Linked DNA regions of Homo sapiens: all the other regions are linked to region 2. The links are contacts of gene promoters, found by promoter capture Hi-C in blood cells and fetal thymus (Javierre and others, 2016). All regions are on one chromosome and are shown on one strand. Each heading gives the region's core, a stretch centred on a gene start or on the middle of the fragment in contact. The rest is flanking DNA. Distances are from core to core; before and after follow the strand shown. Region 1 overlaps NUP58 (nucleoporin 58). Region 2 holds the start of PARP4 (poly(ADP-ribose) polymerase family member 4). Region 3 overlaps TNFRSF19 (TNF receptor superfamily member 19). Region 4 has its middle 6.4 kb from the start of MTMR6.

Evidence for each region. Contacts are between HindIII fragments. The CHiCAGO score rates a contact against its expected background, and 5 or more counts as called.
Region 1: a fragment that was not itself captured here is called in contact with the fragment with the promoter of PARP4 in region 2 in 1 of 17 cell types (neutrophils); the score reaches 8.2 in neutrophils.
Region 3: a fragment that was not itself captured here is called in contact with the fragment with the promoter of PARP4 in region 2 in 1 of 17 cell types (activated CD4 T cells); the score reaches 6.2 in activated CD4 T cells.
Region 4: a fragment that was not itself captured here is called in contact with the fragment with the promoter of PARP4 in region 2 in 2 of 17 cell types (neutrophils and monocytes); the score reaches 8.0 in neutrophils.

What each region holds. Positions count from the first base shown.
Region 1 is chr13:25,313,978-25,317,532 of GRCh38, reverse strand. NUP58 (nucleoporin 58) reads right to left here. Exons shown (of 16, transcript NM_014089.4): 6 at 2,066-2,176. Among named protein-coding and RNA genes, the nearest start is that of NUP58, 14 kb to the right of the region's middle. The HindIII fragment of the contact is 3,842 bases long and covers 102-3,555 here.
Region 2 is chr13:24,511,480-24,515,304 of GRCh38, reverse strand. It overlaps PARP4 (poly(ADP-ribose) polymerase family member 4), which reads left to right and starts at 2,527. Exons shown (of 34, transcript NM_006437.4): 1 at 2,527-2,599. All of the region lies in intron 1 of LOC105370117 (a long non-coding RNA gene), which reads right to left. RefSeq lists a silencer at 2,370-2,529. The HindIII fragment of the contact is 3,630 bases long and covers 1-3,549 here.
Region 3 is chr13:23,576,930-23,580,594 of GRCh38, reverse strand. The region is part of intron 1 of TNFRSF19 (TNF receptor superfamily member 19); the gene reads right to left. Among named protein-coding and RNA genes, the nearest start is that of TNFRSF19, 8.4 kb to the right of the region's middle. RefSeq lists silencers at 615-674, 875-1,354. The HindIII fragment of the contact is 3,323 bases long and covers 1-3,186 here.
Region 4 is chr13:25,292,061-25,295,765 of GRCh38, reverse strand. No RefSeq gene overlaps it. Among named protein-coding and RNA genes, the nearest start is that of MTMR6, 6.4 kb to the right of the region's middle. The HindIII fragment of the contact is 3,928 bases long and covers 111-3,705 here.

The DNA of each region.
Region 1 (3,555 bases), core at 773-3,272, 800 kb before region 2:
AAACTTGAGCCTGTTTCTACCATGGATCCCTGATTACCATGGACCCCCAATTAATCTACCTAGCTTTGCCTCAGTAATACACGTGGAGCTCTACAAAAGCTTCCTAACAGTTCTCCATGACAATTCTTGCCTTCCTGAATGCTATTTTCCATATGGCTGTCAGAATGCTCTTAATCTTAAAATACAAATCTCATCAAATCCCTTTAATAGACCCAAATTGCCTGAGGTATTAATATAATGACAAAACTCAACATGGCAAATAAGGACTCCATGACTTCTGGAACCTCATCTTTCTGCTCTATGGCTAATCTGGCCTTCTATCATTTCCTCAAAAGGGTCAAGGTCCTTCTCATCTCTAGTCTCACTTGACGCTGTCCCCTCTTCACTGAATGCTGTTTATTGCTACTCTCTATCTGGTTAAATCCCACACTGGTACTGCAGGGCCCAAGCTAACTGATACAGCTACTAGAAACACAGAAATCATTTGGATTAAAAAAAAAGAATCCCTTGATATAAGCAATAGATAAAAGGGAACTGGGATGTAGTAATCAGAGATCCATAGTAGAAACACACCCAAGTTATTTATATACATGTTTGTGTGTACATAAATATTTATAAAATTTAATGTCATATCTAAGACATTTATTTCATTTATTGTATATATTCTCCTTGCTCAACTCTATCTTAGGTACACTATGAAAGCAGGAAGATGTGGGGAGGGGCAGAGGAGGGGAGATTAATTTCTTACATTTATCTTACTCTTCTGCCTTAGCCTGCTCTTTGAGCCTAAAAACAATTATAATAGAGAAGTACTCTCATGCTTAAAATAAAAGTAATAGAAGTGGTACCAAGCTATTCCACTTGAGTAAACAAATAAGCTGCTAAGGCTGCTTTCCTAATTATGGAGTTGCTACAGAGAAAACTAAGTAAAAACAAACTTTGTTTAGAAATTTGTCAATTTTCACTGAAAGAGAAATCTAAACTTTGTAAAAGTTTAAAAAGGTTTTACCAACTTTAAAATAGTAATTCACCCTAGAATAGTATCTCCTTATAATAAAACCTGTGTCCAGTTTTTTAAAAAAAAAGTCATATAGATACACAGATACTATTTCACAGCTTCATCCATTTATCTTTCTTCAGAGAAGTTCAATATGTATATATATACCCTAGTATATATGGTATATATTCTAGTGAAACATGCTTTCATCAGAAGCAGAAGAGATGGTGCAAAACAAAGTAACACAAAAAACAATGAAAACATTTTCAAAATGAATTTGGATTAGCAAATTTTTAAAACCAAGATTCAACGTGGCAAGGGCACAGCAAGAAAGGTATTTTCATACTGGTTAGGGGGTAAACTGGTAAAATCTTTCTGGGAAAGCGATTTCACAAACTATACACTAAGAGTCTCCAAAATATCCCTCTCTTTAAGCCAATGATCCAATTTCCAGGTATTTTCCCTAAGAAATAACCAAAAATATAAACAAGCATTGATAATAAAAGGAGACACCTACATGTCTGGCTCTGCTAGGGTTTTACAAATAGTAACCCTCAAACCATTTAACAGATAAGGAAAAACCAAAGCACATAATATAAGTAACTTCAATAAGGTCAGAGAGCTTATAAGCAGTTGAGCCAGGATCTGAACCCGGGCAATTCCACTCCAGAGCAGACACTCTTAAACTACTATATTATGTTGCCTTTTTAGATAAATGCCCAGTGTTTTACTTCCCAAAGTAAAACATCTGGAAATAAACATCTAACAAGAGAACAATGGTTGACTAACTTATCCATCCATAAAACTGATATTAAGCAGCATTAAAATATTTAAAAAGAGTTACTGACAGACAAATGCTTCTGATGTTAGATAAGAACAGACTACAAAACAATACTGCATATGTATCATGATCCCTATTAAAAAATACATATTCGTATACACATTAAGATAGCTAACTGTTACTACTAAATATATAACTGCTAATCTTCCACACAAAGGAATTTTGAGCAACCTAGACATTCCCTCAACAGAACTGTTAAAACATAAAGTTACAACAGCATTACTTACTCTTTTTATCTGAGGAGCTACTGAAATCTATACCACCAAGGCCTTCATTGCCTGCAGTTGAAGTAGCTGCTGTAGTTCCCAAAGTCAACCCTAAAGCATTCTGTCCAAGTCCTATAAATAAAACATAACTTATAAATTCCATCAAAAGACTACAACAATTTCCCCTTACTGATCAAAGGACTCTAATGCTTTTAAAGTTGGATCCTAGATTTTCTTCATATTTGATTTAGGCAAACAACAAGAAACAAGCCTGGAGATGTTTTGGCCAAAGACTGATAACCTTTCTTGAATTCGATGGCATATGCAGTTTGGATGATGCGATTTTTCATTATTACGAGGGCCAGAACATATATCAATTCAGTATGTAGGCACTCAATCTTCACTTGTTATAAAGGGGTTTTGTTACAGAGGGCTTTTAAACCCTCTCTACAAAAGCAGTTTCAGTTGGTGTATTTTCAGGTGAATACATCTTGTCTTACAAACACACTTTGGAACTACATACTTTTAAGATAATCTAGTGTGAATTTATAACATTTGAATATAACATGTATTGAATATAATTTCATACTCCCAAGTTCGTTTCACAAAACTTAAAAAAAAGTATTAGAATTCATTTGCTTATTTACATCTTCCCTCACTGACAAAAGGAATAAAAAGGACCAGACTACGGTTAATCATAAGTCATTAACGTACACTTGTGAGTCAAGCGCAAAATTTCAAGCATCTTGTGTTGATAAATCTGTATTTCTTTTTTATTGTTATTATTGTTTTTGAGATGGAGTTTCGCTCTTGTTGCCCAGGCTGGAGTGCAATGGCATGATCTCGGCTCACTGCAACCTCTGCCTCCCAGGTTCAAGTGATTGTCCTGCCTCAGCCTCCCAAACAGCTTGGATTACAGGCATGCATCACCATGCCCAGCTAATTTTGTATTTTTAGTAGAGATGCGGTTTCACCATGTTGGTCAGGCTGGTCTCGAACTCCTGACCTCAGATGACCCACCTGCCTTGGCCTCCCAAAGTGCTGGGATTACAGGTGTGAGCCACCGTGTCCAGCCTAATAAATCTATACTTTTATAAGACCATGCATTACTGAGCTAATACAATTTTTGTTCTTTTTAGAAGAGATGTTATCTCTAGATCAGTTTACTGACTCCTTAAACAGGCTCTTCTTTGTTTCCTTATCTGGTTAGTCAATATTGAGAAAGAGGAAAATGTATTTCTAAAATATGGCTAATAGGCTGGGTGCGGTGGCTTACGCCTGTAATCTCAGCACTTTGGGAGGCCAAGGCAGCCGGATCACTTGAGGTCAGAAGTTTGAGACCAGCTTGGCCAACATGGTGAACCCCCTCATCTCTACTAAAAATACAAAAATAAGCCAGGTGTGCTGGCACACACCTGTAATCCCAGCTACTCAGGAGGCTGAGGCAGGAGAATCTCTCTTGAACCCTGGAGGTGGAGGTTACAGTGAACCAAGATCACGCCACTGCACTC
Region 2 (3,825 bases), core at 1,278-3,777:
CATGGAGCTTCTCTGAAGTGTTACATTATGTATTTTAACAAATTGGGGACTTTGGAGCCACTGTTTCTTCAGATACTCTTCCTGCCACCTTCACCCTCATCTTTCTTTCTGGGACCCCCTTTATGCATATGCTGATACACTTGATGGTGTCCACAAATCTTTTGGACTTTGATCTTCATTCTTCTACTTTCTGCTCCTCAGAGTTAATAATTTCAACAGTTTTATCTTCGAGTTTGCTCATTCCTTCTCTTACCTGCTCAAATCTACTCTGGAGCATCACTTGTGTATTTTTCATTTAAGTTATTGTATTTTTTTCTTTTTCTTTTCTTCTTCTTTTTTTTTTTTTTGAGACAAGATATTGCTCTGTCACCCAGGCTGGAGTGCAGGAGTGTGATCTTAGCTCACTGCAGCCATGAACTTCTTGGCTCAAGTGATCCTCCTGCCTTAGCCTCCTGAGTAGCTAGGGCCACAGGCATGCACCACCATGCCCGGTTAATTTTGTAATTTTTTTGTAGAGAGGGGATCTCCCTATGTTGCCAAGGCAAACTCTTGGTCTCAAGCGATCCTCCCGCCTTGGCCTCCCAAGACACTAGGATTACAGGCATGAACCACCATGCCTGGTCCTATTGTACTTTTTAACTACACAATTTCTTTTTGGTTCTTTTCAGTTCCAAAATGTGTTTGGTTCCTTTTATAATTTCTATCTCTTTATTAATATTCCTTATTTGTTTTTTAAATAATTTCAACTTTTATTTTAGATTCAGAGGGTACATGTGCAGGCTTGTTACCTACATATAATTCGTGGTGCTGAGGTTTGGGGTATGACTGAGCCCCTCACCCGGGGACTGAGCATAGTACCCAATAGTTTTTCAACCCTTGCCCCTCCCCCTCCCTCCCTGTCTAGTTGTCCCCAGTGTCTATTGTTGCCATCTTTATATCCATGAGTACCCAGTGTTTAGCTCCCACTTACAAATTAGAACATGTGGTATTTGGTTTTCTGTTCCTTCATTAATTCACTTACGACAATGGCCTCCAGTTGCAGTCACGTTGCTGTGAAGGACATGATTCCATTCATTCTTTTTATGGCTTCGTAGTATTCCATGGTGCAAATGTACCACATTTTCTTTATCCAGTCCATTGTCGATGAGCACCTAAGTTCATTCCATGTCTTTCCTATTGTGAAGCGTGCTGTGACGAACATACTAGTGCATGTGTCTTTTTGGTAGAATGAGTTCTCTTGTTTTGAATATGTACCCAGTAATGGGATAGCTGGGTTGAATAGCAGTTCTGTTTTCAGCACTTTGAGAAATCTTCAAACTGGTTTCCACAGTGGTTCAACTAATTTACATTCCCACTGACAGTGTATAAGCATTTCCTTTTCAATAAAGCCTTGCCAGCATCTGTTGTTCCTTGACTTTTTAATAATAACCATTCTGACTGGTGTAAGATGGTATCTCATTGCAGTTTTAATTTGCACTTTTCTGATAATTAGTTATGCTGGGCTTTTTTTCATGCTTGTTGACCATTTGCACATCTTCTATTGCATATTCTCTATTTATTGAGACTTTGTTCTCCTGGTTGTTTCTTTCAGTTATTTTTCTATGTTTCCTTTCACTTTTTGTCCATGTTTAAGACAGTTTATTTGAAGTATTTGTCTAATAATTCCTATGTCTGTGCTTCCTCAGCTCAGGGACAATTTCTGTTCATTTCTTTTTTCCTTTGAATTGGCCATTTTTTCGCCTTTTTTTTTGCATGCCTCATAATTTTTTGTTGAAGATTGGACATTTTGAGCATTACGATGTGGTAACTCTAGGAATCAGTCTCTCTCCTCCCCCAGAATCTCTTGTTGTTTCTTAGACAACCCTATAGAGTAGGTTGTAATGATGAAACTTGGTAAATTACCTTGTCCCCAGCCCCCTTGGTAATAAATTGTGGAGTCAGGATTCAACCCCATACCCTTTCCACTGTATTCTCTACTCTATCCTTTCTATTCTCATTTTATTCAGTATCCTAAAAATCTGAATCTTCCCCATTGCTTTATTCCCATTTCAGTGAATCTCAGATCTGTATCTCCAGCCCCCTGCCTCTCTTGAATGGCAGATAAATATATTTCCAACTAGTTACACTGTCACGAATTTCAAACGCAGGAAGGCTTAAAGTAAATTTATTATCTCACTCTCCTGTTTCCACGAACTTTCCCGAAATTTTCTTCTTTCCCGGCCTTGTGAATCCCTTCCATTTCTCAGTTAAAGGACAGCACCATCCACCCACCTCTCTCAAAGCCGAGCTTTGTATTAATCCTCATTGACAAAATCCCTCCTGAAATATGAAACTGAAAGCCCTGAACCCTCCGGCTGATCTTGGAAGAGAAACCCCGCCAGAGGCCGGGGACCCGCTCCCCACCTGGCGGACCCGATTCCGGGCGCGTTCCGGCTATCGTCCCTGCTTGGGACGCTGCGCCCGCCTGGTGCGGGGCGGGGTTCCGGCGCAGTGGCGCCCGCCCAGCCCCGGGGGCAGGGAGAGCCTAGATTACGGAAGTACCGCGAGCAAGGAGCGCGGAATCGGGGAGCGTCCGGAGCTAGCTGGATCCTCTAGGCAGGTGCGTGGGCGCTGCGGGGTGGGGGGCTGCAAAGGTCCCTGTAGTCCTAGCCAGGAAGTGGCCCGCGTACTACTTTCCCGCCAGTGGCTGCACCCTTGCCCTGCGCGGCGTTGGCGCTGTGGGCCTGACGGCGCTGCTAGGCTCGGGAGTGGACTAGCTAGTGCAGCCAGCGCCCTCGGGGAGGGATATTGCGGTCGTTCCGCTCTGCCCCGCGGCGCAGCCCTGGTGACGAGAAACCGGGTGCGGTGGGGGGCGCCCACCGGAGCCGACAGTCACACCAAGTCTCCGCACCCCGTGCGGTGCGGTTCGCAGTAGCACGCGTTGTTTCTTGTTTCCAGTATGCCAAACGGCCTTCTTTCCTAAAGTTAGGTTTCGAATTGTGCAAAAAGTAAGGTGGTTTGGTGAGTAATCAGGAAGTACTATCTGACCTCGTGAGTCATTGGGAACACCGTGATAGAAACAATGTGTTTGTTGAGGTCCAAAGTTGAAAACCTCTAACTCAGTTAAGTAATTCCTGCTAGGAGGGCCGAATGGTTCACCCAGGGATCGAGTTGGTAGATCACAGGTTCTAGAAAACTAAGGCGCTGCTAAATATTCAAGCCCAAGCACTTTCAATTCTGGACTGCTGGATGACAACAATTATATGACAATATCCAAGCATAGTGCTATGATAAAGGGGAAGTTCGCTCTGAGATGTGCGTGTTGCAGACTCATTACATCTGACTTTATCATTTATTAAGTAAACATTAGGTCTTGTTTGTGTGCGTAGAGCTACTGTATATCATGTAGGAGTGAAATAAAAGTAGTACCTTTGTTGTTTAAGGGTTTAATAAACCCATTAGGGAGGTGCATTACTGATGCCATTTGAGTCCAAAATGCAAATAGTGTCAGAAGGCTTTTCTGTAATCCTGGGCTTTAATGGATACGTGAGAGTTTTTAGTAAGCAAGCTTTTATTGAATGCCCACTGTATATCAAAAGTGATCTTAGCGTGTGCTGACTCACACACTTCGGAAGGCGGAGGCTGTAGAATCAAGACTGCCCAGAAAGGGACTCCTCAGGGTTTTCCGAGAGGAGGAAATGCCAGTGGTAAAGACGAAGACCTGTGAAGCAGGAAGCCACTTGATTCCACCTACACCAATGGTTTATGGAGCAGCCAAGAGTTTGTGAGGAGGCGCGCTGAGGGTTTCTTAGGAATCGGGGCTGTTCCCTGCTGTCTTTGGGTGGA
Region 3 (3,665 bases), core at 276-2,775, 930 kb after region 2:
GTGTTGGCAAAAACGCCTAAGGTGAAACTGCACCACAGAAAAGGTACTGAGTAAATCCTGAAGTAACGCAATGTAATCCTCCCTTTTGCATCTAATATCTGATCATGAAATGACAACACTAAGAAATATCGTTTGCATGAGGTATGTTTAACAATAACTGTTTCCTGTTTACATAAAGAAATTGTTTGGTTTTGTAGTCAAAGAAACTGTCATGGGGTAAAAACTACGTCTTCATACATATCTTGGGTTAAACTGTTTCAGTTAAAAGAAACACTGAACAATGGTGATGATTTTGTATGCATATTGAGTCCTTTATTAACATGCAAACAAATGACATGGGTTTCTTACAATAGTGAACGGAGACTGGATGACTAGTGCACTACCATCAAAACAGATCACAGAATTTTGATCCGCCAAACTTGATCTCCAGGAGTATATTAGCCAAATTTCTGTCCCATGAGATGGCATTACACGCATTGTAAGAGCTGGCTTTCTCACTCTCTAAATCTATCACAGGCTCTACTCATCAATATACTAATAATTCCTGCTGAACTCTAAGGAACTCTTTCCCACAGAAGGAATATACCCTGGGCCGCTCACAGACAACGCTCTCCCGCCGCTGGCGCTGGTCCGGGATGCGGCCCCGAGACCCCTGCAGCCGCGCGCTGGCTCAGGGGACCTCCGCAGGACGCGGGCGGGCGCCGGGGCCGGGTCGGGCTTGGGCAGAGTGACAGGCTCCCAGTCGTGAGCCTCACAAGCAGATCTATTTACAATATCCCGGATAGGAGTCCAGGTCGCGTCGCTCGCGTCGCCCGCGGGGACCCGGCGTGAATTCACACGCTCCCCTCCCACCGCCTCGCCGCCTGTCACGGCCCCGAGACCCGGTCAGCCCCTTCGGGGGTTCCCTTCGCCGCGCAGTACTCCGCCCGTGAGCAGCCCCCGCCTGCGCTCCTCCCTCCCTAGGGCGGCCGCCTCCACTCCCGGCTCCCACCCAGCGGGGATCCACCAGGGCGAGGGCTGAAGACCTCGCGGGACGCCGCGCGCCGGGGACAGCGACGCACCTACCTTCCCAGCCACCTGGGAGGCTGCAGGTCCGGGCCGGAGCCCGAGGCTCAGGGGCGCGCGGAGCAGTCCTGGTTAAGGCGCAGGGCGCGGGGTTGCATGGGGGTCCAGTCCAGCGTGCACACCGTGCACCTCCCAGCGCAGGGCTCCGCGCTCTCCCGTAGCCCGGCAACGGCCGCCACCCCAGAGCCCCGCCCACTAGGAGCCCCGCTCAGGGCACCGCCCACCCGGGCCCCGCCCTCACCGCGGCTCTCGCCGTGGCTCCGCCCCCGTCCAGAGCCCCGCCCCCAGCGCACACTGCGTCAGCCGGACTTGCTCTGCAGCTGGGTTCTTTGGAGGCCCCCACTCCGCGGCTACTGAAGCGGATGAGTGTGAGGCTGACTGGGGGCTTGGGGATGGGGGACCGGAGACCACCAAGAACATGGCTGTGTTGGGAAACTTTCCTTCAGAGCAGAGAGGGAGGGTTCCTTTCCGCCGGGGTGTTCCCCACCTTTCAGCCTTTCCCGCGTGGGCCCGCATCCCAGCCAGAGGGGATACGGCGGCCAGGTCTGCGCTGCTGCGCCTGAGCTCAGGTCGGCAGAGGTCGCAGACCTCGGCTCCTCAGCCGGCAGGGACTCGCAGGTGCGCGTTCCCACGGACGCCTCCCGGGGAAGCCCGAGTTCGCCTCCTGCAGGCCGGGAAGCACTCGCCCCGAGACGGCCGCACCCTCGCAGCGGAAGGGCGTCTGCACCACAGCTGTAGCACCAGCGCGTGCGAGGCGGGGCCAGGGCCGGGGACTCACTGGGCAGTTTTGCTGAAAGGGTTAAGAGAATCGCGTCTGTAAAATACTTTTCCACCAGTAGAATGCTGTAAAAGTGCAAGCAGTATTGTTCTATTCGTTCACCCAAGATACGGTGCATGACTTTGGTACCAAGGCATCCACCGTTTCTCACGTGTTGGTTTTGACTTCCCACTCAACTGCACTGTGTGGATGGACCCAAGTCCCTGTTTCTTGTCTATACCCCAAGGCCCACTGGAGCCCCTCCATCAGTATTTGTTGAATGAATGAGTGAATAGGTTGTTGTATTTAATTGCCCAAAAGCACAGCTTGTGATCCCAGGCTTCCAACGGCGTAGCACTATACTAGGTACTTGTGAACAATGTTAAAAATATTATTCCCGATGTCACACCTTGATAGAGGTTGTATATTTCAAATCTAACACATCCAGAATATAGATCCCAATAACGACTTATTGGTAAACGATTTCCAAATGATGTACGTTATCTAATTTGAACCTCAAGGCAAGTGTGTGCTTCCCTGTCCCATCTCCCAGCGGCTACCCGATCAGACTCCAGCCCTCAGTGCACATCACTACCATATTCATTCCCACATCCCGCTGAACTTCTTTATCTGTTTCCTTCCCCAGCTACACCTGGATCTCCCGAGGGCATCTCCTAATTCCTTGATATCCCGGGGCCTAGCACACGATGGATACTCAGCACTTCTAAGCTGAGTTACTGCATCTTCCTTTGCAAGGTCTCACGCAGTCCCCCATCGTCCTCTCTTTGTCTTGGTGCCCACCACCTCCTTCACCACCATGCAGACCCTCCCCACCCCTCACCACAGCACTGCCTCGGTCATCAACCCCGCTTCCCGCCTTTCATCACTGCTACTGTCAGGCTGAAGAGTCACAGGAGGTTCCTCACTGTAAAGAATGGATTCTGCGCTCCTTAGATTAGCATTCCGAGATGTCCAGGTGCAGCCCTACACCTATTTCCAGCCTTGCCTCGCCTCTGGAGCAGGCTTTATAAACTGCGCCGCGTGGCCCTTCCTTTGCTCTCTACTTCCTCTTCGTGCTCTCCCATCTTACCTCTGAGCTTTACCTACTTGTCTTACTCCAGTTTCAGCACCTCGCTCAAAAGCCACGGCTCTCACGAGTTTTCCCTCAATTCTGAGCCTATGTATTTCCTTGCTCCAAGGTTTGTGGCAATTTAGCACTTGCCCATTGTGTCCTGTATCATAAGATTCTGTGTACTAACTTTCTTCTTCAAGGAGTTAAAAACACTTTCAGAGAAGGGGCATATTTTGTTCCGATTTGTATCTCTGACAGTATCAATCATTCAAATAAATGTTCAACCAAAGCTTTCTGAGTGGAATTGAATCTGCCAGCTCAGGAACTACCTTCTCTGACTTCAACCAAATGTTCTTCTTCTCTCTGACCTCCTTTTGTCCTTAGAGACAGTAGTAACACATTACTCAGTTCATTAGTTCTTGAATCATTTTACGTGTTTTGACTGATCTTCCCGGTTAGCCTGTTAGCTTACAACAGAGAGAGAACCTATTGTTAGCCTGAATGGGCTTGGGCATCTGACAATCTGGTCCCAATGCCAACCTGTCATTCAGTAGTTGCATGACTTTGGAAAAGTTACTTAACCTCTCTAAGTTTCTGGTTCTCCATATGTAAAATGAGTTGCTTCATTGATGGTTGGTAAGTATTAATAGATAAGGTATTTAAAGTGCTTAGGCCAATGCCTAGCACTTACTAAATAGCCATTCTTAGTAGCAATATATCCTCTTACAATGCCTAGCATCAATCAATAAATGATCATTGACGGTGAGAAAA
Region 4 (3,705 bases), core at 825-3,324, 780 kb before region 2:
AAGCAAGCAGGAAGAAAGTGGGCCAAGACGGTCAAAACAGATTCTCCTACCCCGTCCCACCTCCATCCCACTGTCATCAAACCTGGGTGGTATAGGGAAAAGGAGAAGCTTTGAACTGGATACATTTTGAAGTATATATGTCAGATTACTCTAAAATATGAGAGAAACAGGTACTTCTCCAGGATCAACTCAAGCTCCTATTGAGGAGAGGTGAAGAGACAGCCAGCAAAGCAGGCTTGAAGGGTAGCGGTGGAGCAAAAGAAAGATACTGTCTGCTCGCACCCCACAGAACCCAGTGTTCAATAAAGTGGTCATGTAGACTAGAGCATGACTAACCACTGTGTCGGCCAATGTCAATAGCAAGTGCAAAAACCCAGACTCAGATACCACTTGGCTAAATCATCAAGGTTTACTTATCTAAAGGATTTAGAGAGAAGGACACTTAGAAAAAAAAATGGCTAGTAACCTTTTTAAAGACAGAATGAGGAGCCAGTCTCTGAACCCCTAGATCCTGAAAGAGTAAGCATCACACCAACCTTATGGAAACATAATACTAGTATGTCTTCCTCCAGCCCAGCATGAGTATAACCTGGACATGTGCACTTCCTTGGGCCAGGTGTACCTCCTCAATTGCAGAGGTGCAGAGTACATAATGTGATCACTTGAATACAGTATACAGTGCATTCAGACAAATTTCATCCTGAGACAAGTTCAGTCTCCCCAAATGAACACAGCCTGATCCAAGCACATTTCTGAACTCCATGGTGAAGATCTAGAATGAGGATCGACAGGTATCTAGATATTTCTGGGAACTCTAGGATTTATTCTGCTTAACATGTACATACACACAACTATTATTTATTGAGCATTTATTTATTATTATTATTTTTAGAGATGGGGGTCTTCCTCTGTCACCTAGGCTGGAGTGCAATAGTGCAATCATAGCTCACTGCAGCCTCGAACTGCTGGGCTCAAGTGAGCTGAGTGAGCTCTGATTGCTCCTGCCTTAGCCTCCTGAGTAGCTGGGACTATAGGCAAAGGCTGCTATATCCAGCTATTGAGCACTTATCGAGGCCAGCTACTATGCTAAGTACTTCTGTTCATTATTTCATTAACCTGTACAAATAACTCAATGGATAACATAATGATAAGTACCACTATTTACAGATAAGGACATCAAGAGTTAGAGAAGTTAAATAATTTGACTAAATTCACAGCTAGAAAGTGGCAGAAATGAGATCTGAATTCAGATATCTTTGATTTCACAGAGAATTCTAATCATAGACTTCACCTTCTTCCATAAAACTCCTAGAAATAAAAGCCAAGAAACGAAATCAAGTGAAATATTTTTGCTCTTTTAACGATTTATGCTTACTTAAGAAGCACCAAGATTAGGAATTGTGATTGCTTTTATAATATTCCATTCGCTGGTAAACAGTAAACATAATTATAAAAGCATCCACTATTTACAATAGCAAAAGACTTGGAACCAACCCAAATGCCCATCAGTGATAGACTGGATAAAGAAAATGTGGCACATATACACCATGGAATACTATGCAGCCATAAAAAGAATGAGTTCATGTCCTTTGCAGGGACATGAATGAAGCTGGAAGCCATCATTCTCAGCAAACACACAGGAGCCGCAAAACAAACACCGCATGTTCTCACTCATAAGTGGGAGTTGAACAATGAGAACACATGGACACAGGGAGGGGAACATCATACACTGGGGCCTTTCAGGGGTTAGGGGGCAAGGGGAGGGAGAGCATTAGGACAAATACCTAATGCATGCAAGGCTTAAAATCTAGATGGGCCGGCAGGGTGCGGTGGCTCACGCCTATAATCCCAGCACTTTGGGAGGCGGAGGCCGGCGGGTCACGAGGTCAGGAGATCGAGACCATCCTGGCTAACAAGGTGAAACCCCATCTCTACTAAAAATACAAAAAATTAGCTGGGCGTGGTGGCACGTGCCTGTAGTCCCAGCTACTCAGGAGGCTGAGGCAGGAGAATCGATTGAACCCAGGGGGCAGAGGTTGCAGTGAGTCGAGATCATCATGCACTGCATTCCAGCCTGGGCGACAGAGCAAGACTCCATCTCAAAACAACAACAACAACAACAACAACAAAACAACCTAGATGATGAGTTGATAGGTACAGCGAATCACCATGCCACATTAATACATATGTAACAAACCTGCACATTCTGCACATGTATCCCAGAACTTAAAGAAAAAAAAAAAAAAATGCAAGACAATAAATTTCTGTTGTTTAAGCCTCCCCCCCAAAAAAAGCACCAATATTTTATTGTTAAATGTAAAATATTTTCTTACATAATAATAAAAATATCAAATATCTCTTGTGCCTTTTATAGGGGCACTTTTCATTTTTTTTTTAGTGGTGTAAAAATAAGCATTAAACATTACAGAGAAACAAATGCAGAAAACTCTGATTACATGGTGGCTCATGCCTGTAATCCTAGCACTTTGGGAGGCCGAGGTGGGCAGATCACTTGAGTACAGGAGTACGAGACCAGCCCGGCCAACATGGCGATACCCCGTCTCCACTAAAAAATACAAAATTAGTTGGGTGTGGTAACGCACACCTGTAGTCCCAGCTACTCAGGAGACTGAGGCTTGAACCCAGGGGGCAGAGCTTACGGTGAGCTGAGATGGCGCCACTGCACTCCAGCCTGGGCAACAGAGTGAGACTCTGTCTCAAAAAAAAAAAAAATCTGATTCCTCATTATTTCAAACCGTAATAGTAGTTTCTTTCATGCTTTTTGTGAATTTTAACTTTCAATTTTTTGTGCAAAAAAACTCCGTCTTTAATTGCAAAGTCAATTAAGAAAATGATATTTTCTTAAAATCATCAAATATTAGTCATGTCACTATTTTAAGTTGTTTTTGTAGGCACATGTAAGAAAAAACCTGATGTCTCCTAGAAGTTGGATGATAAAGGAAATTATAAATATATACATTAAAACAAAATTAATTAAGTTACAGATATGTCTCCTTAAAAAGACAGCATAGCTTCTATACCACATCTTGATATGAACCTAGCAGATGAAATGGCATATCTAAAGGCAGAATAGGGCCCTTAGAGGGAGGATTGTTCAATAATGAGGCCTAGTTTAGGGAAATCTAATATTTCCCTCAAATAATGAATCTTCAGGGCTGCCTCCAGAGGCTTGCCTGGCCCAGAGCCCCTCCTGCCTTTTCTTGTGGTTGGTACATCCTGATAGGCTGGCTGATGCATCAAGATCTTTGCTGAATGGCAACAGCCTCTCCTATCATGCAGCTAGTTTCCCCTGCTCTGAATTCATGCTAACTAAGCAATCTTCTCAACTGTAATGTGACCTCCCCCCACGCTTTATAGGAAGAGAACATGCTGACTTTCATTCCCATCTGCTTTCTTGTGGTCAATGATTACACTGGTATTTTGATATTCACCAGTCTAACTAACCCTAAAAACAAGTCTCTTCCTGATTATCTTCCTTCAGATTAGTTTGTAAGTTGCAGTGGACTACTCAATTGAATTGTAACAGTATTAAGTGTGCTCTTGGCATAATTGATGAGATCAGGCAGCAGAAAATGCTTAATCTGATGAATTTTATTGTATGTCAACATTTTTAAAGGGAAGGATAGGAATGTAGGAACACAGGTGCATATTGAATCCTCTGAAACTGGATCGTGTGCTTTATAA